Regions from separate parts of the Homo sapiens genome. Here region 1 is linked to region 2. The links are contacts of gene promoters, found by promoter capture Hi-C in blood cells and fetal thymus (Javierre and others, 2016). All regions are on one chromosome and are shown on one strand. The core of a region is centred on a gene start or on the middle of the fragment in contact, and the rest is flanking DNA. Distances in the headings are between cores, read along the strand shown. Region 1 has its middle 2.9 kb from the start of TMEM87B. Region 2 holds the start of CKAP2L (cytoskeleton associated protein 2 like).

Region 1 (4,475 bases), core at 161-2,660, 710 kb before region 2:
TCTCCACACACGGGGAGAGACCCACTGACCCTGTGGGGCTGGTCCCTACAATTTATGTGATATATAAGTTGCACATGAAGAGGAAATATCAGAAAAACAACCTTTATGTTTACATATCCATAAGCCTCAACTCAAAACTAAAATCAGTTTTGATTTAGGGAAGAAAAAGTTAAATGAAGGCAAATGGAAGTATGTGGAAAAGGTGCTTTATATGATACTCTCAAAATTTCTCATACAATCCAATATTTTAATTAAAAGCAATGAATCAAATGTACAGCTTTTTATGCAAAAATAGCATCTATTCATTTTTGGTGTTAGCCATACCCCAAAGTCTCTCATTAATAGCACTGAATTCAGGATCTCATGATACTTCGTGTTCTCAAATGCCTTTTCATTTCCCTGCACAGCAACCTCTGAACTGTGATTCAGTTTTATAACAGCTGCAATAAACTCCACTAGAGGAAGGACTGGTCTATTGATGGGGGCCTTTCAGTTCTAGCTTACAGTCAACTATTGCCAAATTTTTCCTTATTTGTTCTTTGGACAATTTTTGTTTGCTCCAGGATTTAATTTTTCAAATTAAAAATTATATGGTAGCTGTTTTGTTTGTTTGTTTGTTTGTTTTTCTAAATCCCATAAGACTCAAAAGAGAATGAGTAAAGCACTCTGGCAATCAGTTGACTATCAATCTATTTTTACCAAGTAATCATAAATTTTCCATCTGCTGTGGAGGACACCAAGTTGGATCCCTATATGGGATGTGAGAGGTGTGAGATACTCCCTTCCTTCTTCCTTCCTCCTCCTCCTTCTTAGAAAGGCATATAAATTTTATTAACATATATACAGGGAGAACCACAGAGTGATTACCCCCTTCTTTCTTAGTTTTGGAAATTTTTCTTTTGAAATGATTTCAGACTCAAAGAAAAGTTGCAAGAAGAATACAAAGAACTCCTGCATACTCTTCATTCAAATTGGTTTTATTAGATTATCTTGATAGATAGATAGAGATGGTATACATGTTATACATATATAAAGCTTATATATATAATATATAAAAAGTTTTTTGTAACCACCAAAGAATAAGTTCAGATGTGGTGCCCGCTTACCTTTAAATACTTCAGTGTGCTTTTCTCTAGAAAGAGGACCTTCTCTTAGTGTGATAACGGTGCCATTTTCACATTCAGGAAATTCACATTGACAATACCATTTTCTTAAAGTCCTTGTTCAAATTTCACCAATTGTCTAAAGAATTTTAATAGCAAAAACAATTTTTCTGGTGTAGGCTCCAGACTGCTAGGCCTATATGTCACATTTAGTTATCATGTCTCTTGGGTCTCCTTTAACCTCTAACTTCCTCAGCTGTTTCAAGAACCTGGCATATATATATATATATATATATATATATATATATATATATATATTTTTTTTTTTTTTTTTTTTTTGGTAAATTATACCAGCTAGTTACTTTGTAGAATGTCTTTCAATTTGGGTTGTCTGATGTTTCCTTGTGATTAGATTTAAGTATGTGAATTTTTTCCTCATTTCCTTGAATAGCTTGATTAGATGCATTTTTGCATTTTGGGCATGCATTTTTGGCAGGAATATCACAGAAGTCATGCTGTTTCTTTTCAGTTAATCAAATCATGATACATATCATGTCTGTTTGTCCCAATCCTTGTGGGATTAACCTTGATCATTAAGTTGGTGTCTGCCAGGTATCTCCACTGTATAATTACTGTTTTTCTCTTTGTAATTAATAAGTAATTTTTGGAAGATATTTCCTCATGAAGCTTTTGCCAACTAACTTTAGAATAGAATTGATGATTCTTTCTGAATCAATTTTAATTGTGATAGTTGCCAAATGGTGATATTTTAAATTTGTTATTCCTTCTGCATTTATTAGTTTTCCAACTGTAAGAAAGTGATTTTCTTTCCTATTTATGTAATCATTTATTTATTTATGTTAGTATAGACTCATGGATTCCTATTTGAGTCAATGAGTTACAATCCACTACTATCATTTTGGTGACCAAATTGTCCCAGATCTGGTAAGTGGAAGGGAGCTCCTTCAAACTGGCTCCTATGCCTTTTTGACGTGTCCTCATAATTTTTTACCCACTTCCTTACTTTCTGGCAAAACAAGATTCTCAAGTTCATCATGAATTTCTCTATTCCATTCCTGGGCTCAGCCACTTCTCCAAGGATCCCTGGTTTATTTTAGTGGAGAATGATATTTATAAAGCAAGATCTGGTGCTAGATGTACCTATTGCTACTGGGGTGTCGCTGCTTCTAGGTCCTCCTGGGAATCAGTGCAAGAAAATATAAACACACACACACACACACATATCTACATCTATTTATAAAACTAAATTTTAAAAATGAGTTCACACTGATATCATCAGTTGCAAGCCAGCATTATAGTTCATTCTAACCTTCCTCATTTTCCTTTTTTTTTTTTCCTTTTCTTGCTTTCTTTCTCTTTCTTTCTTTTTTTTGTTTGTGACAGGTTCTGACTCTGTCACACAGGCTGGAGTGCAGGGCTCACTGCAACTTTCGCCTCCCAGGCCCAAGTGATCCTCCCGCCTCAGCTTCTTTGAGTAGCCAGAACCACAGGCACGCCACCACACCTGGCTAATTTTTGTATTTCGTGTAGAGACAGGATTTCGCCATGTTGTCCAGGCTGGTCTCAAACTCCTGAGCTCAAACTATCCACCCGCCTTGACCTCCCAAAGTGCTGGGATTACAGGCGTGCCCAGCCACTGTAAACATCTTACGACCATGGGTGGTGACTGGCAAGAAATGTACCTTGCTAGTTTTAAGATGGAGTTATTTTTAAAATGGTGTCACCCTGGCTCTCCTATGCTCCTGTTTCCCAATTTGACAACCAACACGATCTTTCTGATCAGCTCATCCTTACTTAAAAACCATCATTGGGGCCGGGCGCGGTGGCTCACGCCTGTAATCCCAGCACTTTGGGAGGCCGAGGCAGGCGGATCATGAGGTCAAGAGATCGAGACCATCCTGGCTAACACGGTGAAACCCAGTCTCTACTAAAAAATATAAAAAAATTAGCCTGGCGTGGTGGCTGGCGCCTGTAATCCCAGCTACTCAGGAGGCTGAGGCAGGAGAATGGCGTGAACCAGGAAAGCGGAGCTTGCAGTGAGCCGAGTTCGCGCCAGTGCACTCCAGCCTGGGCGACAGAGCGCGACTCAGTCTCAAAAACAAAACAAAACAAAAAATCATTGCCTCTCCAGTGTTCTTAACTAAAGGTGCCATCTGCCTAACTTAATTTAGGAATGCCTGTATGTTTTGGTACTGTTTAAATATTCCCAGCTTTGCCACTCTCCGTCTCACACCAACATCCAGTCATCTGGAAGATCTTTCCATTCCTCCAGTTCTCTCGTAACTAAAACGATTTCAGACTTACCCCTCACTCCCACAGGTAACTCGCCCTTAACTCTTCTTGTAGAACTTAAATTTCATGTATTGTTCTCTCCTTCTGTCCCTCACTTACTTCCTAAATCTCTGGTGGATGTTCCCCTGTGGTCCTGTTACAGTTATTCTGACCTAAACAGAACTGATCACGTTGCTTACTGGGAAGATGCACATGCAATCTCTAGTGTATAGTAGGTCCTCAATAATTACTGGTGACTGGTAAAGCAGCCAAGGCCTTTGGACTATAAATCGATCTTATTCTACGTTAATAACAATATTAGCACAGGATTCTATTCCCTTGCTGGATATTATTTACATTTGATAATGAATGAACTAATTCTCTTTGACAGCAAAACATGTATTCAGCTTACAGCCGAAAATGCAAGGGAAGGTACACAATAAGACGGATCCAAGCCCTGACCCCTCTGAGCTTTAAGCCAGTCAAGTAACTACTTGTTCTGAAAAGTATTAACTGTCCTATTAACGTTAACCTTCACAACACAATGCCTTGTGTTCAACTGGCCTTGGCCTCAAAGCACTTTCCTGGCACATTCCCTGAATTTAAAGAACGGTTTCCATACAGCTGAGAGGGTCGAGGCAGGGGTAAGTGTAGAAGACGCAAGAAATGGAGACACCCTGGGAACAGAACTCTAGACTGCACTCCAACCGTAGCACTTACTAGGCATTCGACTCCAGGACCTTGACACTCGCGCTCGCTGGCGGCGAGCCCCGCCTCCCCACTGCGCCTCATCTCCCAGACAGGCCCCGCCTCCCCACTCAGGCCCCGCCTCCCCACTCAGGCCCGTCTCCTCACTCAGGCCACGCCTCCCCGCCCAGTCCCGTCTCCGTACTAGGGCTTGCTCCAAGCCCTGCTTCCTCGCCCAACCTGGCCTCCCCACTACGGCCTAACCCCAAGCCCTTCTCGTCCAGCCCCGTCTCCACACTACTGCCTGGTCCTCAACTCCGCCTCCCCACTCCGACCCCATCTCCCTGACCAGCCCCGCCTTTACGCTCAGGCTCCGCCTCCCCGCCGGGTCTT
Region 2 (7,824 bases), core at 2,971-5,470:
ATAGTAGCCTCATAAGATTGTGAGGACTCAGTGAGGTAATGCAAGTCAGAAAAGTATCAGGCACACAGTAAGCATTCAATAAATGTTAGCTATCAAGAGGACTAAAGTTCACTTGAGGCTTTTCTTGGTTAATAAAACTAAACTACTTTTCAAAAAATGTCATACTTTTCAAAAAATGATTGTCTCTTATTAAACCAAACTGTTTTTATATCTGTAAGAAATACCTTTCAAATACATGTTCTTTAGGTTGCTAACATCTTTATTATTTTTATTACTAATCATACTTATGAATGCATATTTTTAAAAAGACTAATTTCTACTTACAGATTTAGAAGGTGGTTGATTCTGGCAATTATTCTTGGATTTTAGATAAGGCCTATAAAAGACAAATTAAAATTAATCCTCAGCACAGAAGGATTCTAAGCTAAGCTTGGGAAGTACAGTGATTAAAAATTATGAATAGAATTTTAAATAATTAGAATTTCTGTAATGGCAAAATAATTCAAAATTATATTTAATAAAGTCTCCTTATCATCATTTCTTTAGTTCTGTATCCTCCCCCTTGGAGACCACCAACTGCTCCTACTCTTTTTTTTTTTGCCTTGTGATCCTTACAGAGACTGTCTATACATAAATCTAGCATTCTCACAATATTAATGAGATATATGTGTTTCCTTCATATTTATATAGTCTTACTCATTCACACATCATTCCTGGAGCACTGCAATGTGCCAGACACCGAAGACACAATGCCAAATAAAACCATTAACTGCTTCTTTAAAAAATTTCCGGCTGGGCGTAGTGGCTCACGCCTGTAATCCCAGCACTTTGGGAGGCCAAGGCAGGCGGATCATGAGATCAGGAAATAGAGACCATCCTGGCTAACACAGTGAAACCCCATCGCTACTAAAAATACAAAAAAATTAGCTGGGCATGGTGGCACATGCCTGTTGTCCCAGCTACTCGGGAGGCTGAGGCAGGAAAATGGCGTGAAACTGGGAGGCAGAGCTTGCAGTGAGCCAAGATTGCGCCACTGCACTCCAGCCTGGGCAACAGAGTGAGACTCCGTCTCAAAAAAAAAAAAAAAAAAAAAAAAAATTTCCTTGTTTTCAGTATCTTCAAATACTATCTCTTCTAACTTTAAGGGGGTAAAGAAATATTAAAAAAAAAAAAACCAAGACACACATGAAATATAGCTAGTGAGACAGGAAATGCAGAAAAAGGATTGGAAAACAGAGGTGAATTTAGAAGGAATCAATCTGCATGGACCAAAAACAATTGCTAGACTAACAAGGACTTTGATTATGACTTGTTTGATGTTTGTCTCTCCCATCTACAGCATAAGCCCTGGGAGGGCAGGAATGTCTGTCTTGTTAAGCGCCATTATCTCTAGCATCAGAAGTGACTGAGATGTTATAGGTACTAAATAAATATTTGTTGAATAAGTGAATTAGGTTCATTTAATCAAGGAAATAGAGGTGAGTAAACACCCAAGATAAAATAAAGGGTGAAAGCTAACTTTGTAAAAATTAATTTTCAAATAAATACTTAGCAACTCAAATGGGGAAAAAATTAATTAATGCTAAGAAAGGACAAATAACACGACAAAGATGGTAAGAATCTACAAAGGATAAAAATGAAGTGGACATGTTCTGTCTACCTTAACAGTAAATGCTAAGAGAATGACCCAAGAGCAGAGGGTATCACTCTGCTACGGAGGATTGATTGTAACTGGCTCTCCTGCCTTAGCAAGAAATGCCAGAACCATGGTCATTCAAGTTCTTGACCAAAAACTGCCTTCATGAGAATCAACTTCCCCAAGAAAAAAAAAGCAGAAACAGGCAAAGCTTCCAGCATGGTAGGTAATACTGACCCTTCTTCCCTCCTTCCTTTGGAGATTCACACAGTAATAATGCATAAAGCTTTGCCAATGGACTAAGCACTGCCCAGGGGTTTTTGTCATGCCTGGACTGAAATGCTCTTTTTGCGTTATCATAGAATCCCAGTGCAGTCTGAGTAGACTCTAAGCAAAAGGGACATTTTTCAAAAAGGCTTTAAATTGCTAGTACAAAGAAGGCAACAAAACTTGCGTAACTGTGGACAGATAAACTCACTTGGTGTTTTGGCTCTTCAGTTTTCCCTTGGCTGCAAGGTACTCCTGAAGCTTTCTCTGCCGCTCTTCTGCAACACAGGCAAGCAAACAAACGACATAACTTTAGTTCAAGATTTTAACCAGTTCATTAATATTCTAAAAGATGACACTTTTCTCTAGTGATTTTGCCTTTGCAACATAATGTTATAAAATCCCTAGTCCTATAAATGTGCCTTCAAGCTAACATCAACATCAACAATATCATTTATATGCCAGGCCTACACTAAGTTCTTTAAACTTACTACTTTTTTTTTTTTTTTTGAGACAGGGTCTTCCTCTGTCACTGAGGTTGGAGGGCAGTGGCACAACCACGGCTCACTGTTGACTTGATCTCCCAGGTTCTAGCAATCCTCACACCTCAGTCTCCTGAGTAGCTGGGAATACAGGCGTGTACCACCATGCTGGATAATTTTAAAAAAATTTTTTGTAGAGACAGGATCTCACTATGTTGCCAGGGGTGGTCTCAAATTCCTGAGCTCAAGTGACCCTCCTGCTTTGGCCTCCCAAAGTGCTAGGATTACAGGCGTAAGTCAAAGCACTCGGCCTAAATTTACATTATTGCTTTCAATCCACAAAACAATCCAATGAGTTTTTGCAATCTGAAATTCAGAGAGAGTAAATGTCATGCCCAAAGTTACCCAGCTAATATGTGGCAATTCCAGGACTTGAAAACAGGCTTTTCTAACCCTGGAGCTCACAGCCACTGTTCTCAGCTACAACAGTCTGTTTTGAAGAATTTCTGTTACTGGCCCACCTGAGCTGGTGAGCCAGGCCTGGTCTTACGTCTTTTGTTTTTTTACAGGGATGATGATTTTTACCCACAAACCCTTATATGGCTTCCTTTGTTGGTACTAAGGATAAAATACGCCCGGTCTGCTCACGGCAGACACCTATACTATGGTGACTTTCTACGCAAGCCATTTGTGAGGGGATGACAAGTCAATAATTTCTGCCTTCAAGAACTTTCAAACTAGTAGTGGAGATAAAATCAACACAGCAACAATTACAGTATAAGGTAAAATCTAAGGGCCATAAGAGACGAAAAGAAGTATGGGAGTTCAGAGGTAGGGCATAAATGAGGGGAGTAGGTGGCTAGAAAAGGTTAAAAGTAAATAATGATGTGAAGGAAGACAAAAAGACGACAGGGGTGCCAAACGACTCTTAACCTCATCTGAACGGAGTTGCCCTGTTTTGCTCTCTGATGCTCATGTATCTATCCTTAGAGACAGCTTGGCGGGCAATGTAGAGCGTAGGGGCTGACATAGGGGGTTGGAGTCCCACCTCCGTGACTTCTAGCAAATTAGCAAACTTTGCTGCTGCTAAGCCTATAAGGCGGACAGAAATGCCATCTTTAAAGCTTGTTATGTAAAGTGCCTAGGACCTCGTAGGCATCAACAGGAATAATGGATGAAACAAAACAACGGTGCGTATCTTGGAGAAAGTGGCATCTGAGCAGGAGTATTTTGAAAGGTAGGAAAGGGCTCCAAGCACATCTAAGAGATTAGGGAACGCAGAAGCCTTAGCCCTGGGTGCAGATTTAACCAATCAACTTCTAACCACCGCAGGCTGAGAGGTGTGGAGTGAGAGCCCCGCCAGAGGCAGGAGACCCGGGCTTCGGCCAGACCCCGCCTCCTGGCACAGAGGACCACGCCCGGCTCTGCCTGGAGCCAAATGTGGATCAAAACAGCGCGCAGCTTCCCACTGCTGGTGAAAACCCGAGCAAGGGGCCTCAGTTTCTTTATCCGGAACGTGGTGACAATGACATCTCTTTGCAAGGCTGCTGCAGGGCTTTCTGGAAATACGCCCGTGAGGTATCTGGGCCTGCGCACAGCCTCCCCCGCCCAGGACCCAGACGTCTACCTGGGGGTCCCGTCTGCGCTCCCGGGATGGAAAACGCCCAGGGGAAACTTAGGCAGGCGAGCGGACGGGCACCTCCCGCGGGACGAACTCACTCGGTGGCCTCCTACTTCCCCGGCCGTGTTCCAACGCCTGAGAATAACGGGAACAGCGGTCGTACTCACCGACAGCGGCAGCAGCGGTAGGCCCGGGCCCCACCATGACTCTTCAGTGACAGTTTTTCTTCAAACGCCGCGCCTGTAGCCAGGACCGGCGTGCCGCGCGTCCACGCGTCCTCATTGGCTCCTGCGGGTTTGAAACTCGCTAGTCGTCAGCACGGGAGGGCGGGACAACAGGCAATAGGCTCTTTGCGGTTGGCTCTGGCCTTGAGAACCCGACCTTGGGGCCCTTTGATTGGAAGAACGTGCAGCGCACCTCGGCATTGAGGGCGGCTTCCTCGGGGCGCGGCGCCGCCCGCCTCTGAGTGCGCCTGTGAGTGCGCCTCCGAGTGGGCGTGGGACCCTCCGTGGGGGCCTCAGCCGGGCTGGTGGTTGGGGGGCGGTTACGCTGAATCCAGCTGGGGTTGGCGCGCCGGGAGTCCCTGGGCGGAGAGACAGGGCGGTCCTCCCAGGATGCTGGGGCCGCTACCTGATTCTGTCCTTTCAAAGTCTCAGACTCACAGGAGCTGTGAAAAAATAATATTATAAAGAGGACATATGGGTCTTATGCATCTAAAGGCTCCTAGTTCTTAGTACTGCAGGGTGGCTCGTTTAATTGTGGTAAAATATGCATAACATCACATATACCATTTTAACCATTTTAAAGTGTTAAATTTTTCAAAAATGTGCAGTTTAGTGGTATTAAGTACCCTCACATTGTGGCACAGCCACCACTACTGTCCTTTCCAGAACTTTTTCATCTTCCCAAATGAAACCCTGTACCCGTCACTAACTCCGCACTCCTCCCTCCCCCAGCCCCAGGCAATCACCATTCTAGTTTCTGTCTCTATGGATTTGACAACTGTAGGTGCCATATAAGTAGAATCATGCAGTATTTGTTCTGTGACTGGCTTGTTTCACTTAGCATAAAGTATTCAAGGTTCATCCATGTGTAGCATGTGTCAGAATTTCCTTTCCTTTTAAGGGGGAATAGCATTTCGTTGTGTGGAGATGCCACATTTTGCTTCTTGGTCCATCCCTCTCCGGACACTTGAGTTGCTTCCACTTTTTGGCTATTGTGAATAATAATATGAACATGAATGCACAAATAACTCTTTGAGACTCTCCTTTTCATTCTTTTGGGTATATACCACGAAGTGGTATTGTTGGATCAAACGGCAATTCTATTTTTAATTTTTTGAGAAACTGCCTTACTCCTCTCACGGTGATCTCTTGTTCAAGGTATATTTTCGATTTCACCTGATCAGCTGACTATAAGGCCATAAGGCTAACGGAGAAACGCAGGCCTAGTTTCTCCTAGTTACTAGGAGATCGCAGGCCTCGTTGTCCTGAATCCCTAGACACACTTCATTCCCCTTGTTTTAATCCTAAATTTTTTTTCTTTTGAAGTTTGTCCTGTTTCATCTATTCTCCAGTTTCTTAAAGAGGTCTGGAAAATGCTTTTGGCTCCTTGTGTATGAAGGTTCCTCTTCCATGGATGCTGGAGAAGTCGTGTGTGGAGGGGCAGTCATATCTGGGCACCTGTTGGCCAGGTTCAGCTTACCAGTTGGGTACTCAGCAGGGCATGAAGCCACTGCAGCAGCCCTTCTCTTTAGCCGTAAATAGGGAGTTTGGAAGAGAGCCAGGGTTTCTGGATTTATGCATTTTGATATTTTCAATAGTGTATTAAATGTTTAAAATAGGAAAACTGATCATTATTTTTGTTAATGACTGAGAAAGGGACTCCTTCACCAACAGTTTCAGAAAAGTGAAGGCGGTTTTGTTTTGGTCTTTGTAGAATCTAGGTGGTTGAATGCATGTCAGTTGTAGAAGTCACCTTGCCTGATATCCCACGCAGTGCTGGAGTATTCCACAGACCCCATGTAGGTACTGCACCTTTGCAGGTATACTGCTGGTGTTGGTGAGCTGCCTTACCTGTCCTGTTATTGGAGACCCCTGCTTATTAGGAAACTTAAAATGAACTCAAATGAGCTTCCTTGCTTACTGGTCCTAGTCCTTTGGAGCAACATAGGCCAGTTCTGCCTCGTTTTTTTCCATCCTTTGGGTATTTGACGGTCTATTTTGTAGGACACAAAATGTGGGAAAATAGCTAGGCAGGTTTAAAAATTCTCAACTCTACCAAGCATGGTGGCTTATGTCTGTAATCAATCCCAGCACTTTGTGAAGCTGAGGCAAGAGGATTGCTTGAGCCTAGGAGTTTGAGACCAGACTGGGCAACATAGCAAGACCTCGTTTCTTAAAAAAAAAAAAAAAATTACAAAAATTAACCAGGCATGGTGGCACACACCTGTAGTCCCTTCTACTCAGGAGGCTGAGGTGGGAGGATCACTTGAGCCCAAAAGTTGAAGGCTGCAGTGCACTGTGGTCATGCCACCGCACTCCAGCATGGGAGGCAGAGCAAGACCCTGTCTCCAAATAAATAAATAAATTAAATTCTTAACTCATTCATCAAAGTATCCACTGTAGCTTTCCATGATCCTGGTGTTGTTTTTTTTAGAAGGATCTGGCTCCATTGCCCGGCTAGAGTGCAGTGGCATGATCTCAGCTCACTGCAGCCCCCACCTCTCTGGCTTAAGCGATCATCCCACTTCAGTCACCCATCTGGGTAATTTTTGTATTTTTTGTAGAGATGGGGTTTTGCCATGTTGCCCCAGGTTGGTCTTGAACTCCTGGCTCAAGCGATCCATCTGCCTCCATCTCCTAAAGTGTTGGGATTACAGGTGTGAGCCACCACACCAGGACAATCCTGGTGGCTTTTAACGGTTTTCCATTGCTCTCAGGCTAATGACCTATAAGCCCCTGCGGGCTTGGCCTTTTACTCCCTCAGCATTAGCCACCTCCCTTAGCCTTAGCCCACACTACTCTCCCCTTGCTCAGTGTTATCCAGACACTTTGTTTTTTCCTTTCCATACTCCTCTCTGTCTGGGAATCCAACCTTTCTTTCTCATTTCTCTAGTTGATTATTATTATTTTTACTCTAGCAGCCTTATTGAGATATTTACATACCGTACGATTCTCCCACTTACAGTGTACAATTCAATTTTCTAACATTTTCATCACCCCCTAAAGAAACCCTATACTCATTAGCAGTCACTCCCCATTCTCCCCTCCTCTCAGCCCCTAGAAACCATGAATCTACTATCCATCTCTATAGATTTGCCTTCTGGACATTTCATATGTATGAAATTATGCAATTTGTGGTCTCTGATGGGCTTCTTTTGTTACCAAAATATCATGGGTTTGATCTAGGTCCTGCTGCTCGCTGCACAGAAAGCCAGCCACTGAGATGACAAGTATTGCCAAGGAAGAAGGCTTTAGTCAGGTGCTGCAGCTGAGGAGATGGGGGCTCAATCTCAAATCCATCTCCCTGACCTAAAACCAGGGGTTTGGATAGCAGGGAAGAAATGTAACAATGCGTAAGAAAACAGGAACCAGGGAGGGGCAAGGAAGCAATCCTGATGAATGAGTGGTCCAAAGTCTCATTGCCTGGATGTGGTGATCTGGCGAGTTTCAGTTCTTTGATACTTTTTTTGAGAGGCCTGAAGTCTTTTCCCCAGGAAGGAACTCAAACAAAACAAATACAAGCTTCCAGCTTTAAGACCAGAAGCGTCAATTTCTATGTTTATCCGAAAGAACAGTCTATGGGACTATTGGTTA

The links. The method cuts DNA at HindIII sites, captures the fragments that hold promoters and counts their contacts. A CHiCAGO score of 5 or more calls a contact.
Region 1: a contact is called between a fragment that was not itself captured here and the fragment with the promoter of CKAP2L in region 2, in 1 of 17 cell types (fetal thymus). The highest score is 7.4, in fetal thymus.

What each region holds. Positions count from the first base shown.
Region 1 is chr2:112,050,089-112,054,563 of GRCh38, forward strand. No RefSeq gene overlaps it. Among named protein-coding and RNA genes, the nearest start is that of TMEM87B, 2.9 kb to the right of the region's middle. RefSeq lists silencers at 4,173-4,222, 4,423-4,475. The HindIII fragment of the contact is 755 bases long and covers 1,034-1,788 here.
Region 2 is chr2:112,760,389-112,768,212 of GRCh38, forward strand. CKAP2L (cytoskeleton associated protein 2 like) reads right to left here and starts at 4,221. Exons shown (of 9, transcript NM_152515.5): 1 at 4,174-4,221; 2 at 2,115-2,181; 3 at 325-376. The coding sequence starts at 4,210. RefSeq lists an enhancer at 3,851-3,990 and a silencer at 4,441-4,600. The HindIII fragment of the contact is 4,243 bases long and covers 3,508-7,750 here.